7 separate regions of the Homo sapiens genome follow, and all the other regions are linked to region 4. Evidence: promoter capture Hi-C in 16 types of primary human blood cells and fetal thymus (Javierre and others, 2016). All regions are on one chromosome and are shown on one strand. The core of a region is centred on a gene start or on the middle of the fragment in contact, and the rest is flanking DNA. Distances in the headings are between cores, read along the strand shown. Region 1 has its middle 5.0 kb from the start of OR6C68. Region 2 has its middle 20 kb from the start of OR6C4. Region 3 has its middle 9.4 kb from the start of OR10P1. Region 4 holds the start of OR10A7 (olfactory receptor family 10 subfamily A member 7). Region 5 has its middle 10 kb from the start of OR2AP1. Region 6 overlaps OR6C4 (olfactory receptor family 6 subfamily C member 4). Region 7 has its middle 32 kb from the start of OR10P1.

Region 1 (3,237 bases), core at 546-3,045, 280 kb before region 4:
GCCAGTTTCTATATGCTACCCTTTGCTGCAGAGCAAACCATTTTAAAACTTAGTGGTTTAAACTAACAGCCTTTTTTTTTTTTTTTTTTGCTTATAATTCTGTTGTGAATTGTCAATTTGGTCAGGGTTCTGCTGATGCAGTTCCTCTCTACTCCAAGGGATGCTGGCTTGGCTCAGTCAGGTATTACCAATTATTTAGTAAGTCAAATGAGGACAGATCTGTTTTGTGCAGTCCTACTCACATGTCTGGTGGTTGGTGTTGGCTCTGGATAGGCCACACATATTTCCAGCAGGTGAGCCCTAGCATCTTCACATAATAATTGTGTTCCAAAAGCAGAAAGACGGAAGGCAAGCTCAAATGTACAAGCATTTTCCACTTCTCCTTGTATCATTTTGCAAATGATACAGCAAGGGAACCATGACTCCCTAGTCCATTAATGAAACGATCTGTTATGACTTCTATTGTTAATAACCCTAGGAAAACCCAAAGTGCTGTGGAGGCATGTAGGGTGACAAAGCTTTTGATTCAGCTAGAAATGTTTGCTTGCACGTATGAGACACCTATTTTCAACTTGTTAGAGACAATAGACTCTGTTGATTGATGTGAGACAGAAAGTCTGATGGTAGGGCTGGTGCTTGGTACACTATGATTCAGAAATTCATGTCACTTTTTTTTTTCTGGTTCCACCTCCCTAAGAATTTTTAGGTTCTACTCTTCTCAGTATGACTTTTTATCCTCATGCTGGCTCCCTTTATAGTAGCAATACTTGTGACAGCAGTTCTGCATATAATATCCTTATATAACATCAGTGAGAAGAAAGAAAGTAGTCTGGTCTCTAGGGTTTTCAGGAAAAATTAAGATCTGCTTTTTTTCGTAGGGTCATTTTCAAGGCACTACGGTAGCTAGGCAAACAGAACATGCTATGTGAATAATCCTAGACTACATCATTTACTCTTGTAGTCAACTATAAGATAAACATGTTTTTTTGTTTGTCTATTTGTTTTGCCTTATATGGTTTATTATGAGAAAGGAGAAAAGGTGCTGAGCAGAATAAAACAAAAACTGAAACTAAAACAATGCATGTTTATTACAATATGTATACTTTTTGATAGCCTAGTTTCCACAAGCATGCTTCTTCCTCTACGTATGCTTTTTAAACATCTTTAAAATTATATTTAAAATAAATTGAGATACAATTTATGTATCATAACATTTATCCTTTGAAATTGTACACGTTTTAGTATACAAGCTTTTGAAAATGCTCAAGGGTGCATAGAACTTAATAAATAATTCTCAAAAGGCAAACCCAAAGTGCATTTTCCTTTAAGTCCAGGAATATTGGATAATGTTGAATTACTTTTATTAGTTGTAGGTGCATCTTTCCTCAGATATGGAAGTTATTATTAAATAACGTTGGCCACATCCAACACACCCAATATACCATGGTAGAGAGAGAAGGTGATAATGAAAATGACTTCATTTCATTTCATTATTCCACGTTTGGAATAATAAGGAAAATAATGTATAGCAGTTACTAGTCTATAAATTGTGTCATGTTCTAATTGGAAGGCATAGCAAGAATTAATTGCCCAACTGGAGTGAATCAATTGGTGGCCAATCCAGGTTCCCGTGGTTTTGAAATTTGGGAAATAGTCTTCATCTTGTCAGAGTGCACATACTTGAAATGGGCACTAAAGCTTTCCACCACAGGGATTTGTACAAAACTAACAGTTCACTTCTTGCTGAAAATGGGAGTGTATGTCTCTTGAGATTTTCTGAGGAGCTAAGCAATCATAAGCTGTTGGACAGACTTGGTGTTTCTTTGGCATTGGAGGAGCTTAAATTATTGGTATTTTGCAAAAGCACAATATGTGCAACCATGAAAAGCTTTGTATTAGGTAATGTCACACAGTAAAAATAATAAGCATTATTTTAAAAATTAAGTTTGTGCAAAGCAATTCTAATAAAAATACTAGCACAGGTAAAATCTATGTTAAATTTTTAATAAATAAACACTATAGTAAATATGGGACTTTACCTTAAAAGGTAGTTGAATGTAAGGGTTGGTAGGAAAGGGCTGAAGATGCTGAGTTGTGGTGATAAGGGTAGTTTCAAGACAACATATGCCAAAATGAGCCAAGAGGAAGAATTCTGGATGAATCAGTCTGGTTTCACGATGTTATAATGCTCTATGGTTTCCTGCATTCTTCTCTGATAGTGCTCTTTGCTATTACTTGACTGTACAAAATATTACATGCTGGGAAAAAATGATAAATAAACTAAAGACTCCCATGTTATCTTGACAATATATCCCCATTCACTTATCATTTATGAGCCAAGTCATTACAGAAGCAAAGCTGAAGATATTTTTAAGTCAGATTCAGAAATGAATCTGAGGACTTGTGACATGACATCCAGCTCTTTTCCAGTGCTTTATTCAAACCTCTCATTAGTAACTGTCTTAGACTTGATCATGAACTGGAGACAATTCAAATCAGTGGCCAGGTGTAGGGAAGCACCTTTAATCTGCCTTGTGTCTCCAGAATGGATCCCTCCTACTCTGTTGTAAACTGGAGTCAATCTTTACTAGTTGTAGCAGGGGATGCATCATGAAAATTATTTACTGTGGTACAGTGCCCGAGTAATAAATCCTATTGTTGAGTCCCATATCCCATATTATTTCTTACTAGAGTTCTTTATTCTAGACTTGCTTTCATTAATTTTAACTTGCAATATACAAAATTGACTTTTTCAAGCTTGCAAGGCTGCAGATTACTGATTTACAGGAATTCTGAGAAATAATTTAGTATCTTTTCTTTTTTCTGTGTGAGTCAGTTTCAAGTAAGCTTTATTTTTCTCTATTATATGACCATTTTGATGGCTATAGAAAGCTACTTAGAGTCAACCACCCTAAAATTTTTCCACTGTGTCCCCTAATCCTGTAGTTTTGCTAGACACAAATCCTGCATTCTCAACACAAGCCTGGTGGCAGTTTAACCAATTTGTTCACTACAGTATAAGAAATTTTTCCTTTCTTACATTGGTTTGTACAATTACAATTTTTAGATCTGTCACCTCTTTCTGCTACTCTTGGTAGCAATTTCTCATATCTTTTACTGGCAAGTTACCAAAAAAACCTATGTTGGTGTAAGAAATACATCAATATACATACAAATACTCCAAATAATTTATTGACTGAGTTCATATAACTTGTGGAATTAACCTTTCTCATAGTT
Region 2 (3,462 bases), core at 192-2,691, 310 kb before region 4:
AGAATAATTTATAAGCCTTTGAGTATGTACCCAGTAATGGGATTGCAGGATCAAATGGTATTTCTGTTTCTAGATCCTTGTGGAATCACCATGCTGTCTTCCACAATAGTTGAACTAACTCACACTTGCACCAATGGTGTAAAAGCATTCCTATTTCTCCACATCCTCTCCAGCATCTGTTGTTTCCTGACATTTTAATGATCACCATTCTAACTGGCGTGAGATGGTATCTCATTGTGGTTTTGACTTGCATTTCTCGATGACCAGTGATGAGCTTTTTTTCACGTTTGTTGGCTGCATAAATGTCTTCTTTTCAGAAGTGTCTGTTCATATCCTTTGCCCACTTTTTTGGTGGGGTTGTTTTTTTCTTGTAAATTTGTTTAAGTTATTTGTAGACTCTGGATATTAGCCCTTTGTCGGATGGATAGATTGCAAAAATTTTCTCCCATTCTATAGGTTTCCTGTTCACTCTGATGATAGTTTCTTTTGCTGTGCAGAAGCATTTTAGTTTATATCCAAGTGTGTCTTTTGTTTCCAAAAGTTGTGATTGTCTTTTCTGTATGATATCTATTTCTCTGGAGACTTTTTAATTCATATCCTTTATTAAATTTTTTTTAAAAGTTGGTTTGCACCTTTCTCTGGTGCCTCCTTGAGTAGCTTAATAATCAACCTTCTGAGTACTTTATCTGGAAATTCAGAGATTGCTTTTTGGTTTGGATCCATTGCTGGAGAGCCACTGTGATCTTTTGGGGGTGTTATAGAACCCTGTTTTGTCATATTACCAGAATGACTTTTCTGGTTCTTCTCATTTGGGTATACTGTTCCAGTGGAAAGATTTGGCACTCAAGGGTTACTCTCAGACTGTTTTATCCCACAGGGTTATCCCTTAATGTGGTGCTCTTGTTTTTTTCCATAGGGATGGAGCTTTCTGAGGGCCAGACTGCAGTGATTGTTATTGCCTTTCTGGTTCTAGCCACCCCGCAGGGCTACCTGGCTCCAGGCTGGTGCTGCAGAATGTCTGCAAAGTGTCCCGTGATGTGATCTGTCTTCAGGTCTCCAAGCCATGGATACAAGCACCTGCACTGGTGGAAGTGGCAAGGAGTAAAGTGGACTCTGTGGGAATCCTTAGTTGTAGTTTTGTTTAGTGCAGTGGTTTTCTTGAATGGTGGTTATGCCAACAGTGAAGTTGTCACGTGGACAGACTCAAGAGCTCTGGTTAGCCAGGGTGTTGCCGGTGATGGAATTAGCTGTTGTTTTCTCCTTTTTTGAAGCAGGATTGTTCAGTTATGAATTGTTGTAGTGGCTTGAGTTGGTTGGCCTCCACCCAGAAGGTGGTGCTTTCAAGAGAGCACCAGCTGCAGTAGTAGAAGGGGGATATAATGTTACCCTACATTGGTCAGGATGAGTACTTCAGTTTCTCAGGTGATAGGCAGGGCCATAGAGCTCCCAAGGGTTTATGCCTTTTGTCTTCAGCTACCAGGGTGGGTAGAGAAAGCCCTTCAGGTGGAGGTAGGTTTAGGTGGGTCTGAGCTCAGACTCCTTGGGTGGGGCTTGCTGTGGCCCCTGTGGAGGATGAGAAGATGGTTCTCAGGCCAATGGAGTTATGTTCCCAGGGGGATTATGGCTGCCTCTGCTGCATAATACAGGTTGCCAGGGAAGTAGGGGAAAGCTGGCAGTAACAGGCCTCAGCTACCTCCCATGCAGCCAATAAGGCCAGTCTCACTCCCACCATGCCAATCCCCACAACTGCACTGAGTTTATATCCAGGCAGCCAATGAGCAGAGCTGAGATCTCTCCTCAGGCTACAAGCCTCCCCACTGAGAAAGCCAAGTAGGGTTTTCAGGCCTCACCCCTCCTCACCAGCATACATTTTTTTTGGTGGTGGCTTCTGTGCTTGTATCTATACTTCCCATTCACCCCCCCAACCCTGGATTTTGCTCAGGAAAATTCATGCTCAGTTGAAATTATTACAAAATTCAGCTAGGAGCTTCCTTCACTCTGTGGACCCTCCCCAATTCTGCTGTCTGCCTTCCCTTTCCTAAGGGCTTCTGTGAGATAAGACTAAGAATGGCTTCCCTGGGCTTGAACTGGGGACCAGGAATTTCTACAGGGCTCTTTCTTCTGCTTCTTCTACTTTTTCATTTCACTCAGCTCCCTAAATCTGTTTCTACTCTAGATAAAGTTAAATCCTTCTCCTGTGATCCAGATTTTCAGGTTCCCTGGGGGGATGTATGTTCAGAGGCTGACTTTTCCCCCTTTCGCACTTTGAGAACTCACAGTTTGTTGGTGGTCTTGCGACATTTGTAGCAGCAAGCTGCTTTTTTCAAAGGATCTGTGAATTATTTTGTTTTTCCTGGTATGCTTCTGTGGTGTTTCTTGGTGCAAAAGTTTAAATGTGAGTCTCCAGATGCTGTTCTGTCCATCCAAGTGGGAGCTGCCTGTTAGTCTGGTCTCCTATCCACCATTTTTCTGCATTCTGAATCACATTTATTGATTTGCATATGGTGAACCAACCTTGTATCCTAGGAATGAAGCCTATTTGATCATGGTGAATTAATTTTTAGATGTGCTGCTTTATTTTTAAAAATGATTTTATCCCCATAGGTTTTTGGGGAACAGGTGCTATTTGGTTACATGAATAAGTTCTTCAGTGGTGATTTGTGAGATTTTGGTATTCCCACCACCCAAGCACTATACACTGAGTCAATTTGTAGTCTTTTATCCCTCACCCCCTTCCCACCTTTTCCTCCTGAGTCCCCATAGTCAATAGTGTCATTCTTATGCCTTTGTATCCTCATAGCTTAGCTCCCACTTATAAGTGAGAACGTATGATGTTAGGTTTTTCACTGTGAGTTGCTTCACTTAAGATGATAGTCTCCAGGCTGGGCGCAGTGGCTCACACCTGTAATCCCAGCACTTTGGGAGGCAGAGGTGGGTGGATTGCCTGAGGTCAGAAGTTCAAGACCAGCCTGGCCAACATGGTGAAACCCCATTTCTACCCAAAATACAAAAATTAGCTGGGCGTGGTGGCAGCTACCTGTAATCCCAGTTACTTGGGAGGCTAAGGCAGGAGAATCACTCAAACCCAGGAGGCAGAGGTTGCAGTGAGCTGAGACCATGCCATTGCACTCCAGCCTGGGCAACAAGAGTGAAACTCCATCTCAAAATAAATGAATAAATAAAATAATAGTTTACAATCCCATTCAAGTTGCCACAAATGCCATTAATTCGTTCCTTTTTTTGGCTGAGTTGTATTCCATTGTGTGTGTGTGTGTGTGTGTGTGTGTGTGTGTGTGTGTGTATCTCACAGTTTCTTTATCCACTCATTGATTGATGGGCATTTGGGTTAGTTCCACATTTTTGCAATTGCAAATTGTGCTGCTATAAACACACATGTGCAAGTATCTTTTTTGCATAATGACTTCTTTTCCTCTGGTTAGATACCCAGTAGTGGGATTGCTG
Region 3 (3,705 bases), core at 890-3,389, 410 kb before region 4:
CCGTCTGTCCAGAGGCTCTTGCTCTGATCTTCCCACAAGTGAGTTCTTCTTATTCAAGTCAAGGCAGAAGAAGTGAGGCAGAGGCTGTGCTTCTCTTGCTTCTGTTGTTTCTCCTGAAAAGGTTAGTCATGGTTTCCTGTGGCAGTTGTAGCAGAGGTCTCAGTGCTGTGGGTGTCCAAAGACAAGGTCTGGAGTATCCATTTCGCCTGGCATGGATGGAGCTGGAGGTGATGTGATTTTGGAGCCAGGCAGTTGGGGCAATGTCTTCCTAGTGCCCCACTTTCTTGACCTTGGCAGTGGTAGCAAATTTCTTGGCAGGTCTGATCTACAGTGTTATTCTAAAACTCATTTCTAGAAGCTTAGATGAGAATATGCTCTTCTAGTCCCTTCATTGATTTTGTGTTGTAAGCACCTAATTATCTGAATTAAACATATTTTTGCTTAAACTAGCTAGGATGGTATCCATTATTTGCAATTGAACTCTGACATATACTGACACAGAGTTTAGTACCAGAAATTGTTGCAAGGGTGGGAATCTGGGAATGATCATTTGATCTCATTGGGTTTAAAGACAATGAGGATTCAGTACTATTGGAGGATGGAAGACTGGTAATCTTTGGTTTTCAGCCTTCCGATGTGAAACAGTTACAGAAATAACTACCTATCATCATCTGAAGTGCCGCTGAATGGTGATTCCTGAGCATGGTATGGGTACAAGGAGTTAAATGACAGTGAGTTTGGTTGCTGTTCATAACTGCTCTGGCAGCTTAAAGAAAGAAACTGTCAGGCTTAGGTCTTTTATATTTTCAGCTAAACACATAAAACTTGTAGCTTTGCCAGGGGCCCAGAGTAAGAGAAGGATATTGGCTGGTCCAGGCTGCAATACAGCTAATTCTGTTGCTGGCTTTTATGACTAAGGGAATCTGAAGGTGTGAGAAGTGCCATGGCTGAATTGGTGCTGTTTGGAGCCTGTGAAAAGCCCCATTCACAGAAGAGTTGTAGTGGAGGCCCCAAGGATTCAGAGAAAGTCCACGCCCTCTTCACCAAGTAACTATTATACTTTTGAGAAATATCTCCTTGTTTGTTATTTATGTATTTTTGAGACAGGGTCTCACTTTGTCATCCAGGCTGGAGTGCAGTGACACAATCAGGACTCATTGCAGCCTCGACCTCCTGGGCTCAAGCAATCCTTCTGTCTCAGCCCCCCTGAGTAGCTGGGACTACAGGTGTGCGCCAGCACGCCTGGCTAAGTTTTAAAACTTTTTTAGTAGCAATGAGGTTTCACTATGTTCCCCAGGCTGGTCTCAAATTCTTGAGCTCAAGTGATCCTCCTGCCTTGGCCTCCCAAAGTGCTGGGATTACAAGCACAAGCCACTGCTCTGAGCCATTGCTTGTTATTTGATCTCTGGCAGAGGATAAACACCTGACCCTGGGATACCAGGTGACTCTGCAACCTGAGCTGCCCTTTATGACCTGGGTGTTTCCCAATTGATAAAGCTGCATGGTCAGGCCCAGAAGCACCCCATCTTCAAGTGAAGGGGCATACATGAGATCAGACTTGAAGAAGTCCTGAAGTCACAAGGACATTCCACCAGTTCATGGTCCACACTCCCGTCATGTCTATTCTTGACACACTAATGTCCTTTCTTCCTATGGCCTCATGTAGTGTTCCTCATGACTGGTTGATGGAGGAGGAAAAATATTTGGGCCCAGCTTTACAGAGAACTTTGCACAACTCTGCTGGGACTAACTAGATATGGACATCTATGGCATTATAGCCCCAGTAATGGGGGTTGACCCTGAGGAAAAAAGGGGTGACCTGAGGAAGAGTGGAGAAGAAAAATGCCTGCTGAGCAGAATTTTGATAGTACAACTTAAAGAGTCTGCTTTTCCTGGAAGAAGGATGGCCTGAGATATGGATTTACATTGATCCATGAGCAGCAGCTAATGGTTTGTTTGGCAGGAGGTTTAGGAAGTAGAAGGAACAATACAGGAGAATGAGTGACAAGGCATTCTGGGGATCATCATCATCACCATCATCATCATCACTAACACTTCTGTAATGCTCACTCTGTGTCAGATATTGTTCTAAGCACTTTTTATATATTAACTTACTGAATCCTCCCAAAACACTGTGGGGTAGTTTCAACTATTATGCTGACTTTACTGAAGAGGAATCTGAGGCATAGCGTGGTTAGGCACTTGAACAAGACCATACAGCTAGTAAATGGCTGAGCTGGCATTTGAATCCAGGTGATCTGGCTGCAGAGTTCATGCTCTCAACCATCTTACTATTCTATGAATGAGCTTTTGAAAATGGGTCCAGACTGCGAGACTATTTGTGAATATGTGGGACAATGGTGAGACAATGTGGATGCTCACGAAAGGTCTCTCACTACAGAAGATACTGTTAATACTTAGGGATCAAGATGACCCAGCTGGTAGATGTCAGTCAGCCTTCTCCAGCATCTCCAGTGCTTATTCAAGGGATCACAATCAAAATGTCCATGGCGGAAGGGATGAAGGTTAGGCACAGGCTTACCGACAATGGTTCCCCTCACCAAGGCTGGTCTGGCTATGCCATGGCTGAGTGTGTAACTTGCCAGTAACAATAGCTTGGTGTAGTAGGCAGCCTCTAAGATAGTTCTCCATGAAACTCATCTTCTGATACTCATGCATTTGTGTAATTCTCTCCCTTTTAGTGTAGGTTGGAACCAGTGACCTGCTTTTAATGAAGGGAACATGGCAAAAGTGATGGGATATCTGACATTATGTTGCAAAAAGACTTGGCTTTCATCTTGGGTCCTGTCTGGTTCTCCTCTGCCTCTGTCTCTGTCTTTCTCTTCCCCCTTCTCACAAGTTGCCATATTGAGGACACTCGGCAGCCTGTGGAGAGACTCACATGAGGAAGAGCCAAAGCCTGCCAGCAACCATGTGAGTGAACCTGGAAATAGATCTGAGGCCTGCCAACAGGCACATGAATGAGTTTAGAAGTGGATTTTCCAACCTCAGTTGTCCCTTAAGTGACTGCACCCTCGGTGACAGCTTGACTCCATCCTCGTGAGAGACCCTGAGCGAGAGGCACCCAGCTCATTGCTCTCTCCTGGATTCTTGACCAACTCAAACTGTGAGATGATAATTGTCTGTGGTTTTAGGCAGGGAAGTTTTGTAGTAATTTGTTACATAGCAATGGGTAACTAATATGCCTGGGGATAGTTTGATTACATTGTACCCCTTGCCTGAAGGAGGCAATGCTCTGCACTCACTGGGATAATCACTTACTCTGGGCATGGATTTATCTTTCCTGTCTGCCTGCATCTGCAAGTGTCACCATCCACGGACTTACTGAATGCTGCATTTGTTGTCATGATATTTCACATAATATTGCATCTAATCAAGGAAAAAATATATAGCAAAACAAGTGAGACAATGTGCCAATGCTCACAGGACTCATTGGGATTACCCTGTAACTTCATTCCCCAGAACCACCTGGCCTTTTTTGAACAATAGAATGGCCAATTAAAAACTCAAATACAGCACCAGTTGGGAGAAAAAACCTTGAAAAGTTTGAGTGATCTCTTATAGGTGAGACATAGGCTCTGAACCCCAGACCAATATGTGGTATTCTCCTATAACCGAAATACAATAGCCAAATAGCCAAAATACAAATACAAAATACATTGGTTACCAAGGGGTTGAAGTAGG
Region 4 (3,737 bases), core at 238-2,737:
TATCTTTCATAACTTTCCTTACCCTTTTTCATCCTGCTCTGTGCCCCAGGAGACTCGCATTTATACATTGCATCAACATTCTTGTCCCCATGTTGTATTTGGTTTGGCTTAGAACAGAAGCCAGCAATAGATTTGAGAGAGTCAGATCAAAATAAGGTTGGGATGGCTGCCTTGCTGTACTAAAGAACAGAGATCCTATCAGGTGATTTTTTTTTAATAGTTGTAGCATTCTATTGGTTCCAGTTAACACTCCTTCTACTTGCCCCTTCAGGCCAAGAAGTGTAAAAGTTCTGTTGTATGATCTGTGTGGCTATTACCTAACCTTGTTCACAATTTCTAAATAGCCCTCTCATAAAGCGTTTTCTCACTTATCCCAATTCAGGAGTACCATCTCTTTCCTGCTAGGAACCTGAATGATACACAGAAATGCACCCACCAGTTAGTGATGAAATAAGAGCAACTCTTCCATTCCGTTTTAAGCTTTGGTTAGTAGGTTCTGCTGTCCCTACTTTGGAAGCATTCTTACACAATAGAAGTCAAAACACATCTAACTTCTGTAAGACTTTTTGAGTGATTGTCCTCTTGACAGCCCCTTTCACTTCATTGTTCCTCAGGCCGTAGATGATGGGGTTTAGCATAGGTGTGATGACAGTGTAGGACAATGACACTAGCTTCTTGCTCTCAGGGGACTGGTTTGATTTGGGCCGCAGGTAGGTCAGACTGGCTGTTCCGTAGAAGAGGGACACCACAATGAGGTGTGAGGAACAAGTAGAAAATGCCTTCTGGCGGCCAGTGGCAGAGGACATCCTCAGAATTGTTATGATAATGCGGGTGTAGGAAACCAAAATGAGACAAAAGGGAAACATGATAAACAGGAGTGTGGAGGCAAGTGCTTGCATTTCATACATGGTTGTATCCACTGTGACTAGTTTTAACACTGGGGGACCATCACAGAAAAAGTGGTCCACGGCATTTGGTCCACAGAAAGGAAGGGCCATCATCCAAGCTGTCTGTAGCATAGACACAGGAACACCGGACATCCAAGAGCCTATGGCCATCCACAAGCATAGGGACCTGTTCATTATGACTGAATAATGGAGAGGGTTACAGATGGCCACAAAGCGATCATAAGCCATCATGGAGAGAAGGAAACATTCAGAACTGCCAAAGAAGAAGAAGAAGTACATCTGGGTACCACAGCCCACAAAAGAGATAATTTTCCTTGGGGACACTAGATCTACAAGCATTTTTGGCACCATAACCAAGGTGAAACATACTTCAAGAAGTGACAGATTTTGAAGAAAGAAGTACATGGGTGTTTGAAGTGCGAGATCCACACTGGTAACTGTGACAATAAGAAAGTTGCCCAACAAAGTGACTGTATAAATGGCCAGGAAAAAAATAAAGAGGGAAACTTGCATCTCGGGGTTGTTTGTAAAACCAAGAAGAATAAATTCAGTGACTCTGGTGTGATTTTCACAGATCATATCTTAGATGAGTTTCTCTCTAAAAATCAAAGTATGTGCATCAAAGGGTATTAAATCAATATAGAGGTAATCTCAAAAATAATAATAACATCCATAAAACATCTTTATTCTCAGTTGTCTTACCATTCTGTTTCTCTGAAGCAGAAATGATGTTTATGATAAGATAAAATTAAGGAAAAATAAACATTCTGTATAAATCTTACTCATTGTTTACCACCTAGATGTAATTTTTTTCTCATGAGTAGTCATAGTCTGTGCTCATATTCTTCAACGTAGGCATGCTATTTTGTAGGATAAAGTGGAAAGAGTGTAGATAGATAATTAAAATAGAATAGTGTACTAATTTTTAAATGATTTCAGGATGCAATAAAGATAAATAATGGGCTAGTTTGACATTCTAATATTTAATTATATTAATCACATTTCTACTGAATATAGTACATTTTATACCATTCATCCACTATAAATATATACATATACCAACATGCCCAGTACACACACACACACACACACAAGAAACTTAATAAATAAACATAATATATGCTTATGATTTTGGTGCTTCTCTGTAGTCTCCATCAGCCTAATAGTTTATGACATTTTTATATTGTCTTTTGAACCATAACTCAACTTCACTGGGCCCCCACTTCTTATTATACATAGAGTTATAGTTATATTGTTTAAGCTATATTTTTTAAAAACTTCCAAACAAATATGACTTACAATAGAGAAATATCCTCCCAACACTCATCTTAACTTTTCTCTGCCAAAATAGTTCCTCTCATGACTGTCCATCTTCTTTAAAACTTCATGATCAGAAGTAGGGTACATATACTTACTTTTGTATGTCAGCTGATCCAGTCCCAAAAGCACTAATTCAACCATTACAAACTCAAATACTATATCTTACTTAGAGCAAAATATTTTGGCCAACATTAAATTATGCAATTGTTTTCTTTACAGGAGGTCATTCTTAGTACCAAAATTTAGCAATTACAGGAGGATGTGTTAGAAAAATAATTTTTTCCAAATATTAGAACTGGGTAAATATCGTATCAATTATTTTACATACTTTTTAAATTTAATTCAGAAAAAAATGCATATTTCATTTTATAGTCAAAATAATTTAAAATAGATATCCGCTCCTGAAGTCAGTAGGTAAAAACTTACAGTGTATGGAATCATTCTGAAACTGTGGCTCATTTAAATAATTCTATGTTTTAATTCTACTCTTAAGACATGTAACATCTTACCTGTGTATTTTCCATATTGTAAGTTCTCAAAGGAATGTCCTCAGTAGCAAAAAGAAAGGAACAACTCTGGTGATTTCAGGTTTCCCATGCCCTTGTAAGTCCCAAAATAATAGGTAACATGTGACAGTGATTACAACCATTACTCTCTCACTACTATTGCAAAACCAGCTTCACTATCATTCTTGTCATCAGGAATAGAAACAACAACATCATATTCCTGGTATATTCATAAAAACTTACGAAAAACTTCATATGCATTATCATGCTTACCTACATTTTGGAGCAATTCTAAACTTGTTATGGGTCTAAAATTACACCATCTTTTGTTTTGAAAAAATATGGGAGTTGATGAAGGCATCAAGATTTTATAGTAGTTACAATATTTAGTGCATCCTAAAATGCCTCAACCAACTGCCTCTCAGAATTCTAATATTAACAGTGGCAGAAAGCAGTACTAAGATGAATGGCTTTTCATTGAGTAATAAGTTCTATAATGTACAATCCATGTGAAATATGAATACGGATATCCAAAAATGGTCAGTTTCTCGAATTTTTAATAATTACCATTGCACATTTTTCACCTTTCCCAAAGGCATTTAAGTTTTAATAAAAGTTTAGACAATTAGAGGTTTATAATGTCACAGGATGTACCTCTAAATACTCCTCTCAGTCTTTCTATATCCTAAAAAGCCTACAGATTACTTTGCATATATTCACTAAACTAAGAGATTAATTAGCAGTGATGTTGCAATCACTACCACAAATTTATACTGATTTAAAAAAAAAACTTGCAGAGTGTTGAGTTGCCATGATTGCTACATTGCTCTAGAGAATGTACTGTTTTACTTGTCGCATGGCATTTTGATAACTTGATGTCATTTAATTAAGTTCATTAATTTAGTTGGTAATATCTTAATGAGTCCAAATAGTTTTTTTCATGTCCCATTAAGCAGTCAACTTTGGCCTTTTTTTTTTAGAAAATAGACTTTACCTCTTGTTT
Region 5 (3,241 bases), core at 682-3,181, 360 kb before region 4:
ATCTTTTGATTTCACATGACAGCAACCCAAGCCAAACTATCTTAAGTGAAGACAGAAATTTATAATTCACATAATGTATAAGTCCAGCAGTAACTGGTTTCAGGTGTTACTAGATCTAGAATACAGGGACTCAAACATAGTTACTCTCTCCCCATTTTCTTCTTTTAAGGTTGGTGTTTTTCTTGAGACAGATTTTTTCACTTGGAAGACAGTAGACAGTCTCCAATATATAGTCCTTGAAATCTATGATCCAGAAAGCATGGCACCATCTCTCTTTTCTTTCAAGTCTAAATCAAAAAGGTCATAAGGTCCATCTTGGTTCATATGCTTAACTCTGACTCAATCTTTTAGCTAGGGGAATGTGGTATCATAATTGAATGGGCCAGTTTGTATGTTTATCAATGACGTCAAATAAGGAGAGATGAGTGGATTGACAGTTCCATCAGAAATCCAAGACTGGAGCAGGGTGAAATATTTATCAGAGAAAGGGAGATGCTAACACAAACAAAAATGACAGCTATTGATAAAAGGAAGTTAATTGAATCAGGCAAGAACTGCAGGGGAACATTACTTTGTGAGAAATTGCCAAAGCCAAAGGCCTTGAGAGGGAGAATATGTGTGGAATAAAGAGTGAGTGATATGGGCATAAGTGGGGAGGGGTAACAGTTTGTGCTGAATCAACTTTTGATGTACAAGCTTCTGTTATATAATAATGAGACCCTTTTCATATATAGGATCAGACCAGTCAGAGGCACTAAATATGCACAGTATGAACCTGGTACTAGGCAGTCTAGAGGTGGATGACCTAGGTGGGCACAGTTTTAGCCCATCAAATTTATGATGATGCTACATTGTGAGCATGTATATATTCTGGGAGTAATTAGATCTATGCTATCAGAGACTTCACATCCAAAAGGTCCAAAAAGATGCAGGAAGCTCCTATGAAGAAGAAATAACTTTATGCAAAGCTGTGAAAGTTCTAGAATTTCCCTGCATTTTCTCATGCAAAGAATTGTTCACCCACAGTTCAAGCCAATAAATATTTAAATAATTAATAAGCCAGTTATAATCTATATAATCTCTTCCTTTTGGGTATTTATTTGCAATTATTCTTGACAGTTTTAGAAAAGAAAGCAAAACAAGGAATTGCTGGTGTAGACACTGAATTTCCATGAATTTTAACTACTGTTGATACTCTTCCTATTTTTAAGTTCTTAGAAATTTTATTGAAATTGTGATAATTTTCCAAAATTGCAGGAAGAACTAAATGTTATGACAGTCTGAATTTTTACTAGTGATATTTTTATGATTTTCTATATTTTTGGGAAAGGACAAACATAACATTGGTGTGGGAACTTAACATGAAATAAAGTATTATGGCTAGTAGGATTAGATAGCTGCCTCACTGTCCAGCTCCATCCAGACAATACTTGAATTATGGTACAGGCCTAACATGCCTAGTATCTATGGCATGTCAAACTGGAGACAGTATTTTCCAAGAATATTATGTTCTGTGGAGTTTTCTTTGTCACAAAGGAGGCTATATCATAATATTTTGGAGGAAGTATATATGATTTCATCAAATGCTACACATTTGATGAAAATGGTCACCAAGATTCTTTATTGAGATATTTAAAGTAGAGAAATGTTGTCTCCTTGTGTGTTAAATAAAGTAAAATAAATTAGAGAAACGTACAAAGAAATTTTTATACTCTTGCCTTTACTCTACTCAGGATTGAGGTTACAATGTTTTTCATATTTGTCTTTTTCTAAATTAAAGGAACATAGCATAGCAGATATAGTTGGAATATCTTTCACTAACTGACTCACAGATAATCATAGTTCAGATCAGAGAGTAGTATAGATGATCAGCCTCTGTGGCTGTATGGGAACCTTGACAGCAGTGCTGGCGGCTGGCCCCCTGGCCATCCTGGCAGCCACAAGGGAAGTCAAGGCTGCCTCAAGCCTGTGGGGGCCTCTGGGACCCCAGCTGAGGGACAGCAGCCTGCAGCCTGATGCCATCAGCCTGGGAGCTGATCCAGCAGTTGGTGATCAAGCTGTCCCAGGCAGTGTGGACCAATAACCTGCACACAGTGCTTGGCTGTGCAAGATCCTGCCCAGCAGCCCCACGCTCAGCATGTTCTTGGTCAACAGCCACTGCCTGTAGGATGGAATAGTAGACCCAACAATAATAAATGGTTTGGTGATTCCTGGAAGACCTAAAGGCAGAAATGCTGTTCAACCCAGCAATCCCATTACTGGGTATATATCCAGAGCAATATAAATCATTCTCTTATAAAGACACATGCATGCGTATGCTCATTGCAGCACTATTCACAATAGGAAAGACATGGAATTAACCTAAATGCCCTTCAATGATAGGCTGGATAAAGAAAATGTGGTACATATACACCATGGAATACTATGCAGCCATAAAAAAGAAAAAAATCATGTCTTTTGCAGGGACATGGATGGAGCTGGAGGCCATTATATTTAGCAAATTTACTCAGGAACAGAAAACCAAATACTGCATGTTCTCACAGGTGGAAGCTAAATGAGGAGAACACATGGATACATAGAAAGGAACAACATACACTGGGGCCTACTGGAGGGTGGAGAGGGAGGAGGGAGAGGATCAGAAACAATAACTAATGGGTATCAGGCTTAATACTTGGGTGATGAAATCTGTACAACAAACTCCCATGACACAAGTTTACCTAAGTTGCAGACTTGCACTTATATCTCTCAACTTAAAAGTTAAAAAAAAGAAAAAGAAATGGTTTGATAACCCGTACTGAAATTTTACTGTTGTCCAGTTGATGGATGCCCTGGACGCTCTCACAAACCATTTTCTCAATTTTCTCTCGTAAAGCAACACTTTATGAAAATGCATGCTGAGAACATAAATGTAGTAATGAGACTTGAAGAGACACTCGGACTGTGGCAAGATCTTTGAGTGCACATGTGTCTGTCCCTATGCCAGTGGAATGGTATTACAGTCAGACGTTTACTAAACTGGCCATGGTCCCTGCAGAATACAGGGATCTACCTATTAGAAAAGGAAAATGTAAAACAGTCTATAAAACTAGAGGGGGTCCAATAAGACCATTGAATCACTAAACAACCAACCAACTTCTAGACAGACACTCAAGAACCAGAAGCTTCAGAAATAAAAACAGTAGCTTTTTTTTTTAAAAGAATCTTGAAGCTCTAATGCCAGAAAGCAGACTCTTACAACACC
Region 6 (3,241 bases), core at 565-3,064, 330 kb before region 4:
CAATTCACAATTGCAAAGACGTGGAACCAACCTAAGTGCCCAATGATTAATGAATGGATAAAGAAAATGTGCTATATATACACCATGAAATACTACTCAGCCATGAAAAGAAGCAACATTTTTTATTATTTTATTTTATGTTTTTTTGAGACAGAGTCTTGCTGTGTTGCCCAGCCTGGAGTACAGTGGCATAAACTCAGCTCACTACAACCTCTGCCTCCCTGGTTCAAGTGATTCTTGTACCTTAGCCTCCCAAGTAGCTGGAACTACAGGCACGTGCCACCACACCAGGCTAATTTTTGTATTTTTGATAGAGACAGGGTTTCACCATGTTGGCCAGGCTGGTCTCGAACTCCTGAACTCAAGTGATCCACCCTCCTCAGCCTCCCAAATTTCTGGGATTACAGGCAAGAGCCACTGCACCTGGCCTGGAAAGGAACAAAAGAATGTATTTTGCAGCAGTTTGGATGGAGCTGGAAGTCGTTATTCTAAGTGAAGTAATACGGGAGTGGAAAACCAAAAACTATGTTCTCACTTATAAGTATGTTCTCACTCGTAAGTGGGAGCTAAGCTATGAGTATGCAAAGGCACACAGAGTGGTATAATGAACTTTAGAGACTCAGAAGGGGAATGATGGGAGGGGGCTAGGGATAAAAAAACTACAGCTTAGGTCCAATGTATACTACTTGGGTGACAGGTGCACTAAAATCCCAGAATTCACCACTATTTAATTCACTGATGTAACAAAAGGCCACTTGTACTCCAAGTGATTCTTGTGCTTCAGCCTTCCCAGTAGCTGGAATTACAGGCACGCATCACCATGCCTGGCTGATTTTTGTATTTTTATTTGGTTGGTGCAAAAGTAATTGCAGTTTTTGCCATTACTTTTAGTAGCAAAAACCACAATTACTTTTCTATCAATGTAATAGTAGAAACGGGGTTTCACTGTGTTGGCCAGGCTGTTCTTGAACTCCTGACCTCAAGTGATCCGCCTGCCTCAGCCTCCCAAAGAGCTGGGATTAGAAGTGTGAGTCACTGATCCTGGCTGAAATAAAAAAAATTAAAAAATATATTTTATTGTTTTGAATTTTATTTAAAACTCTTTGCAAGAAATGATGCTGGAAGACTACCTGTTTAGAATTGTAATCCATATATCCACAAGCTCTGGCAGCTTTAAAGAGAGGCAATAGAAGAATGAATGCCCAAATGTAGCAGATTGGCTTTTACTCATTTTCATAGTCTCCTCACCCTAGCACTGGTATAATATGATTCTGAGAATGTTAGGCAGCTAAAGCTGTTTCTTTTAATTCTTGTCCACTTTGGTGACATGAGGAATCAAACTCACCATTTTATATATTTAGATACTGAATATTCTGGTAGCTCAGCACCAGACTCTGTGAAGTCATTCCTTTTGCTTATCTATGACTTGGATTACATTCCAAGTATGAATTAACATACAGCCAGACTAGATGAACAGCTTTAGAAGAATATGACTTGCTTTTTTTTTTTTGACAAGCTCATTTAGAAGGTGATACATTCTTTTCCATGTTCATTTCCAAATGCTTATATAAAGAATGCTGAGTGAACTCTTGCCTAGTGATCTTAAACATTAACTTACACAAAGTACCTTCCTTCCTTGTCTCAGCATGTTAATACATCCTGTCTCTCCCATAGATATCTAGGGCAATGAAGTTGATGCTAGCCCAGTTCTTATAACCTGCTGCCAAGTATTTTGATGGCTTTATCTGAAGAGTAGGTAAGATCTTTGCTGACCCAGCTACCCAGCATGCAGCTGGATGTGTGGAGAGTAGAAATATGCTGGCCTTGTGCAGATGGATTTCAAGTACAATGGCCAACATTTTTACTGTCCCTGCTATATTAAACCAACCAATTTAATGCCTTCTTTCTAGTTAAGCTCCAGTTCCTTGAAAAATATATTGTTTATAATATAGTTATAATAGATGTCATTTATTAAACACAATAAATACTGGCTGTCTTTTAATATTTTACATCTATTTTCTCAGTGAATGCTCAAAACTATAAGATAGACACTATTATTGTAAACATTTTAGAGTTGACAGAGGTGAGCCTTAGAGAGATCAAGTAACTATCCCCAGGTAACTTTGGTAGAAAGTTGAAAATCTGGGATTTGAACTAAAGCCTATGTTTTAAGCCACTATATGACATTGCTCCCACTGTACCATAGGTTTTAGTAGAAATGTGGGTGTAGGGGAACTTAATGATTTAGATGTGGCTATTCAAGAACACTTCTTGTTCTTGTAGTGCATTAAATTTGGAATATATTGAATATTATCACTAATCTCTAGCTAGCAACCAAAGAAAACAAGATACTCAGAATAGCAACAGCTTTACATAAAATACTTTTTCAAAAATATTATACATTCTCCAATACCTTCTGTGGCTCTGATAATTTGCTCTCATAATCAGTTCAATCCAGCTTGTTCCTTAAATGCTTGAGAAGTACCTCATTTTACTCAACATATTACCACATATAAAGCATGTGAAAATACCAGATTGTGTTCCACTTTTACCCCAAATAGTAACAAAGCTCCTGCAATTTTTTAAGATATTATTAAACTGTGTACAAATGCTCAGATTAAAAAAAAGTGCTTACTTCCATTGAAATTGGACACTACCACTACCTATTCAAATTCAAGTTGTCATTGCCTTGAATCCATGTGTAAAGTTTTTGGTAGGATAGTCTATTTCTAGTTGTTTTTCAAGACTCATAATTTGGAACATTCTAGATATAAGATTGCATTGACACTTTATATTCTTTTTACTTTATAAAATGGTCATCCATGGTTTATGTTACAAACGAAAGCAAAAATCTGGGGGAAAGTTAAAGAAGTAGAGCCAGATAACAGAATTTTCTTTTCTAATATCTAATAAAGTGAAACAAAAGGATGAAAATAAAATCATGATAGGAAGGAAAAAATTACCAGAAACTATCAAAGAGAGAGAAAACAGATCTCATGCCATTAACTTAAAATGTCACCTAAGAAAAGAAACAATAGATTTTGTCTAGGAGAATGAAAGCCTTCTAAACTTGTCTCTAGAAACCTGTTTTAACCATAAACTAGAAAATGGACATATTAAGTTGACAAAAATCTTAAAAATTTTCTCCTCATTTGGAGAAAAGTAGACTAAATATATATTCTTTCATTTTCCTCTTATGAAAGGAGGGAAGTTGCAATGGTTACATTTGAAATATAGATGA
Region 7 (3,532 bases), core at 797-3,296, 380 kb before region 4:
TTGCATGATGCTGAGGTTTAGGGTATGATTGAACCCATCACCCAGGTAGTGAGTATAGTACCTGATAGGTAGTTTTTCAATCCTTGCCTCTCTCGATTCCTCCATCCTTGTGTAGTCCTGTGTTTATTGTTCCCATCTTTATGTCCATGTATACCTGATGTTTAACTTATATGTGAGAACATGTGGTATCTGATTTTCTGTTTCTGCATTAATTCGCTTAGGATAATATCCTCCTGCTGCAGTTATGTTGCTGCAAAGGACATGATGTTGTTCTTTTCTATGGCTGTATAATATTTCATGTTATATATGTACCATGTTTTCCTTATCCACTCCACCATTGATGGGCACCTAGGTTGATTCCATATCTTTGCTGTTGTGAATGGTGCTGTGATGAACATATGAGTGCATGTCTTCTTGGTAGAACAATTTATTTTCCTTTGGATATATATACTCAGTAATGGGTATTGGGTCAAATGGTAGTTCTATTTTTAGTTCTTTGAGAAATCTCCAAACTGCTGTCCACAGTGGCTGAACTGATTTACATTCCCGCCAACAGAGTATAAGCAGTCCCTTTTTTCCACAGCCTTGCCAACATTTGTTATTTTTTTACTTGGAAAATATTTATTATAATTACCATCACTATATCAATTTAATGTAATGAATTCTACTTAGGTACATAGCAATAGAGTAAGGATTATGTATGTTCATGTCATAGTTTCAGTTTCTCTTTTTAAATTTAACTTTTATTTTAAGTTCAGGGGTACATGTGCAGGTCTGTTGTACGGGTAAACTTTGTGTCATGAGGTTTTGTTGTACAGATTATTTTGTCACCCAGGTATTAAGTCTAGTACCCATTAGTTATTTTTCCTGATCCTCTTCCTCCTCCCACCCTCCATCCTCTGACAGCCCCTAGTGTGTGTCATTCCCCTCAATGTGTCCATGTGTTCTCATCATTAGGCTTCCACTTATAAGTGAGAACATTTAGTATTTGATTTTCTGTTTCTGAATTAGCTTGTTAAGGATGATAGCCTTCAGTGCCAATCATGTTCCCACAAAAGACATGATCTTGTTCTTTTTTTATGGCTGCATAGTATCTCATGTTGTATGTGTACCACGTTTCCTTTATCTAGTCTGCCATTGATGGGCATTTAGGTTGATCCCATGTCTTTGTTATTGTGAACAGTGCTGCAGTGAACATTCATATGCACGTGTCTTTATAATAGAATGATTTATAATCCTTTGGGTATATACCCAGAAATGGGATTACAGGGTCAAATGGTACTTCTGCTTTTAGATCTCTGAGGAATTGCCACACTGTCTTCCACAATGGATGGACTAATTTACACTCCCACCAACAGTGTATAAGTGTTTCTTTTTCTCTGCAACCTTGCCAGCAAACATTATTTTTTGACTTAATGATCATAGCCATTCTGACTGGTGTAAGATGATATCTCATTGTGGCTTTGATTTGCATTTCTCTAATGATCAGTGATGTTGAGCTTTTTTCATATGATTGTCGGCCGCATGTATGCCATGCCTTCTTTTGAAATGTGTCTATTCATGTCCTTTGCCCACTTGAGGTTGTTTGTTTTTATTCTTGTAAATTTAAGTTCCTTATAGATATATATTAGACCTTTGTCAGATGCATAGTTTGCAAAAATTTTCTCCCATTCTGTAGGTTGCCTGTTCACTCTGTTGGCAGTTTCCTTTGCTGTTCTTTAGTTTAAATAGATCCCCTTTGCCAATTTTTGCTTTTGTTGCAATTACTTTTGGTGTCTTTGTCATGAAATCTTTGCTTGTTCCTATGTCCAGAATGGTATTGCCTAGGTTGTCTTCCAGGGTTTTTATAGTTTTGGGTTTTACATTTAAGTCTTTAATCAATCTTGAGTTTATTTTTGTATATGGTGTAAGGAAAGGGTCTAGTTTCAATCTTCTGCATATGGCTAGCCAGTTCCCCCAGTACCATTTATTGAATAGGGAGTCATTTTCCCATTGCTTGTTTTTGTCAGCTTTGTCGAAGATTAGATGGTTGTAGGTGTGTGGCCTTATTTCTAGGCTCTCTATTCTGTTCCACTGGTCTATGTGTCTGTTTTTGTACCAGTATCATGCTGTTTTGGTTACTGTAGCCCTATAGTATAGTTTGAAGTCAGGTGGCGTGATGCCTCCAGCTTTGTTCTTTATGCTTAGGATTGCCTTGGCTATTCGAGGTCTTTTTTGGTTCCATATGCATTTTAAAATAGTTTTTTCTGGTTCTGTGAAGGAAGCCAATGATAGTTTAATAAGAATAGCATTGAATTTATAAATTGCTTTGGGCAGCATGGCCATTTTAATGATATTGATTCTTCCTGTCTGTGAGGGTGGAATGTTTTTCCATTTATTTGTGTCATTTCTGATTTTTTTTTATTATACTTTAAGTTTTAGGGTACATATGCAAAGGTGCAGGTTTGTTACATATATATACATGTGCCGTGTTGGTGTGCTGCACCCATTAACTCGTCATTTAACATTAGGTATATCTCCTAATGCTATCCCTCCCCCCTCCCCCCACCCCAAAACAGGACCCGGTGTGTGATGTTCCCCTTCCTGTGTCCTTGTATTCTCATTGTTCAATTCCCAACTATGAGTGAGAACATGTGGTGTTTGGTTTTTTTGTCCTTGCGATAGTTTGCTGAGAATGATGGTTTCCAGCTTCAACCATGTCCCTACAAAGGACATGAACTCATCATTTTTTATGGCTGCACAGTATTCCATGGTGTATATGTGCCACATTTTCTTAATCCAGTCTATCATTGTTGGACATTTGGGTTGGTTCCAAGTCTTTGCTAATGTGAATAGTGCCACAATAAACATACGTGTGCATGTGTCTTTATAGCAGCATGATTTATAATTTTTGGGTATATACCCAGTAATGGGATGGCTGGCTCAAATGGTATTTCTAGTTCTAGATCCCTGAGGAATCGCCACACTGACTTCCACAATGGTTGAACTAGTTTACAGTCCCACCAACAGTGAAAAGTGTTCCTGTTTCTCCACATCCTCTCCAGCACCTGCTGTTTCCTGACTTTTTAATGATCGCCATTCTAACTGGTGTGAGATGATATCTCATTGTGGTTTTGATTTGCATTTCTCTGATGGCCAGTGATGATGAGCATTTTTTCATGTGTCTTTTGGCTGCATAAATGTTTTCTTTTGAGAAGTGTCTGTTCACATCCTTCACCCACTTTTTGATGGGGTTGTTTTTTTCTTGTAAATTTGTTTGAGTTCATTATCGATTCTGGTTATTAGCCCTTTGTCAGATGAGTAGGTTGTGAAAATTTTCTCCCATTCTGTAGGTTGCCTGTTCCTTTGATGGTAGTTTCTTTTGCTGTGCAGAAGCTCTTTAGTTTAATTAGATCCCATTTGTCAATTTTGGCTTTTGTTGCCATTGCTTTTGGTGTTTTAGACATGAAGTCCTTGCCCATGCCTATGTCCTGAATGGTATTGCCTAGGTTTTCCTCTAGGGTTTTTATGGCTTTAGGTCTAACATGTAAGT

Evidence for each region. Contacts are between HindIII fragments. The CHiCAGO score rates a contact against its expected background, and 5 or more counts as called.
Region 1: a contact is called between a fragment that was not itself captured here and the fragment with the promoter of OR10A7 in region 4, in 3 of 17 cell types (total B cells, megakaryocytes and M0 macrophages). The highest score is 6.0, in total B cells.
Region 2: a contact is called between a fragment that was not itself captured here and the fragment with the promoter of OR10A7 in region 4, in 3 of 17 cell types (M1 macrophages, M2 macrophages and naive B cells). The highest score is 5.8, in M1 macrophages.
Region 3: a contact is called between a fragment that was not itself captured here and the fragment with the promoter of OR10A7 in region 4, in 15 of 17 cell types (total B cells, naive B cells, M2 macrophages and 12 more). The highest score is 13.3, in total B cells.
Region 5: a fragment that was not itself captured here is called in contact with the fragment with the promoter of OR10A7 in region 4 in 12 of 17 cell types (M2 macrophages, total B cells, naive B cells and 9 more); the score reaches 13.9 in M2 macrophages.
Region 6: a fragment that was not itself captured here is called in contact with the fragment with the promoter of OR10A7 in region 4 in 7 of 17 cell types (naive B cells, M1 macrophages, M2 macrophages and 4 more); the score reaches 8.9 in naive B cells.
Region 7: a fragment that was not itself captured here is called in contact with the fragment with the promoter of OR10A7 in region 4 in 5 of 17 cell types (M2 macrophages, M1 macrophages, total B cells and 2 more); the score reaches 6.9 in M2 macrophages.

The regions. Positions count from the first base shown.
Region 1 is chr12:55,495,770-55,499,006 of GRCh38, reverse strand. No RefSeq gene overlaps it. Among named protein-coding and RNA genes, the nearest start is that of OR6C68, 5.0 kb to the right of the region's middle. The HindIII fragment of the contact is 190 bases long and covers 1,701-1,890 here.
Region 2 is chr12:55,528,085-55,531,546 of GRCh38, reverse strand. No RefSeq gene overlaps it. Among named protein-coding and RNA genes, the nearest start is that of OR6C4, 20 kb to the left of the region's middle. The HindIII fragment of the contact is 4,855 bases long and covers 1-3,462 here.
Region 3 is chr12:55,625,612-55,629,316 of GRCh38, reverse strand. No RefSeq gene overlaps it. Among named protein-coding and RNA genes, the nearest start is that of OR10P1, 9.4 kb to the left of the region's middle. The HindIII fragment of the contact is 3,558 bases long and covers 361-3,705 here.
Region 4 is chr12:55,218,775-55,222,511 of GRCh38, reverse strand. It overlaps OR10A7 (olfactory receptor family 10 subfamily A member 7), which reads right to left and starts at 1,487. Exons shown (of 1, transcript NM_001005280.1): 1 at 537-1,487. The coding sequence starts at 1,487. The coding sequence ends at 537. The HindIII fragment of the contact is 4,903 bases long and covers 483-3,737 here.
Region 5 is chr12:55,581,016-55,584,256 of GRCh38, reverse strand. It overlaps the pseudogene ATMINP2. Among named protein-coding and RNA genes, the nearest start is that of OR2AP1, 10 kb to the right of the region's middle. The HindIII fragment of the contact is 2,465 bases long and covers 699-3,163 here.
Region 6 is chr12:55,552,684-55,555,924 of GRCh38, reverse strand. It overlaps OR6C4 (olfactory receptor family 6 subfamily C member 4), which reads right to left. Exons shown (of 2, transcript NM_001005494.2): 2 at 93-3,241. Among named protein-coding and RNA genes, the nearest start is that of OR6C4, 4.7 kb to the right of the region's middle. The HindIII fragment of the contact is 3,988 bases long and covers 1-3,241 here.
Region 7 is chr12:55,603,071-55,606,602 of GRCh38, reverse strand. No RefSeq gene overlaps it. Among named protein-coding and RNA genes, the nearest start is that of OR10P1, 32 kb to the left of the region's middle. The HindIII fragment of the contact is 5,423 bases long and covers 1-3,532 here.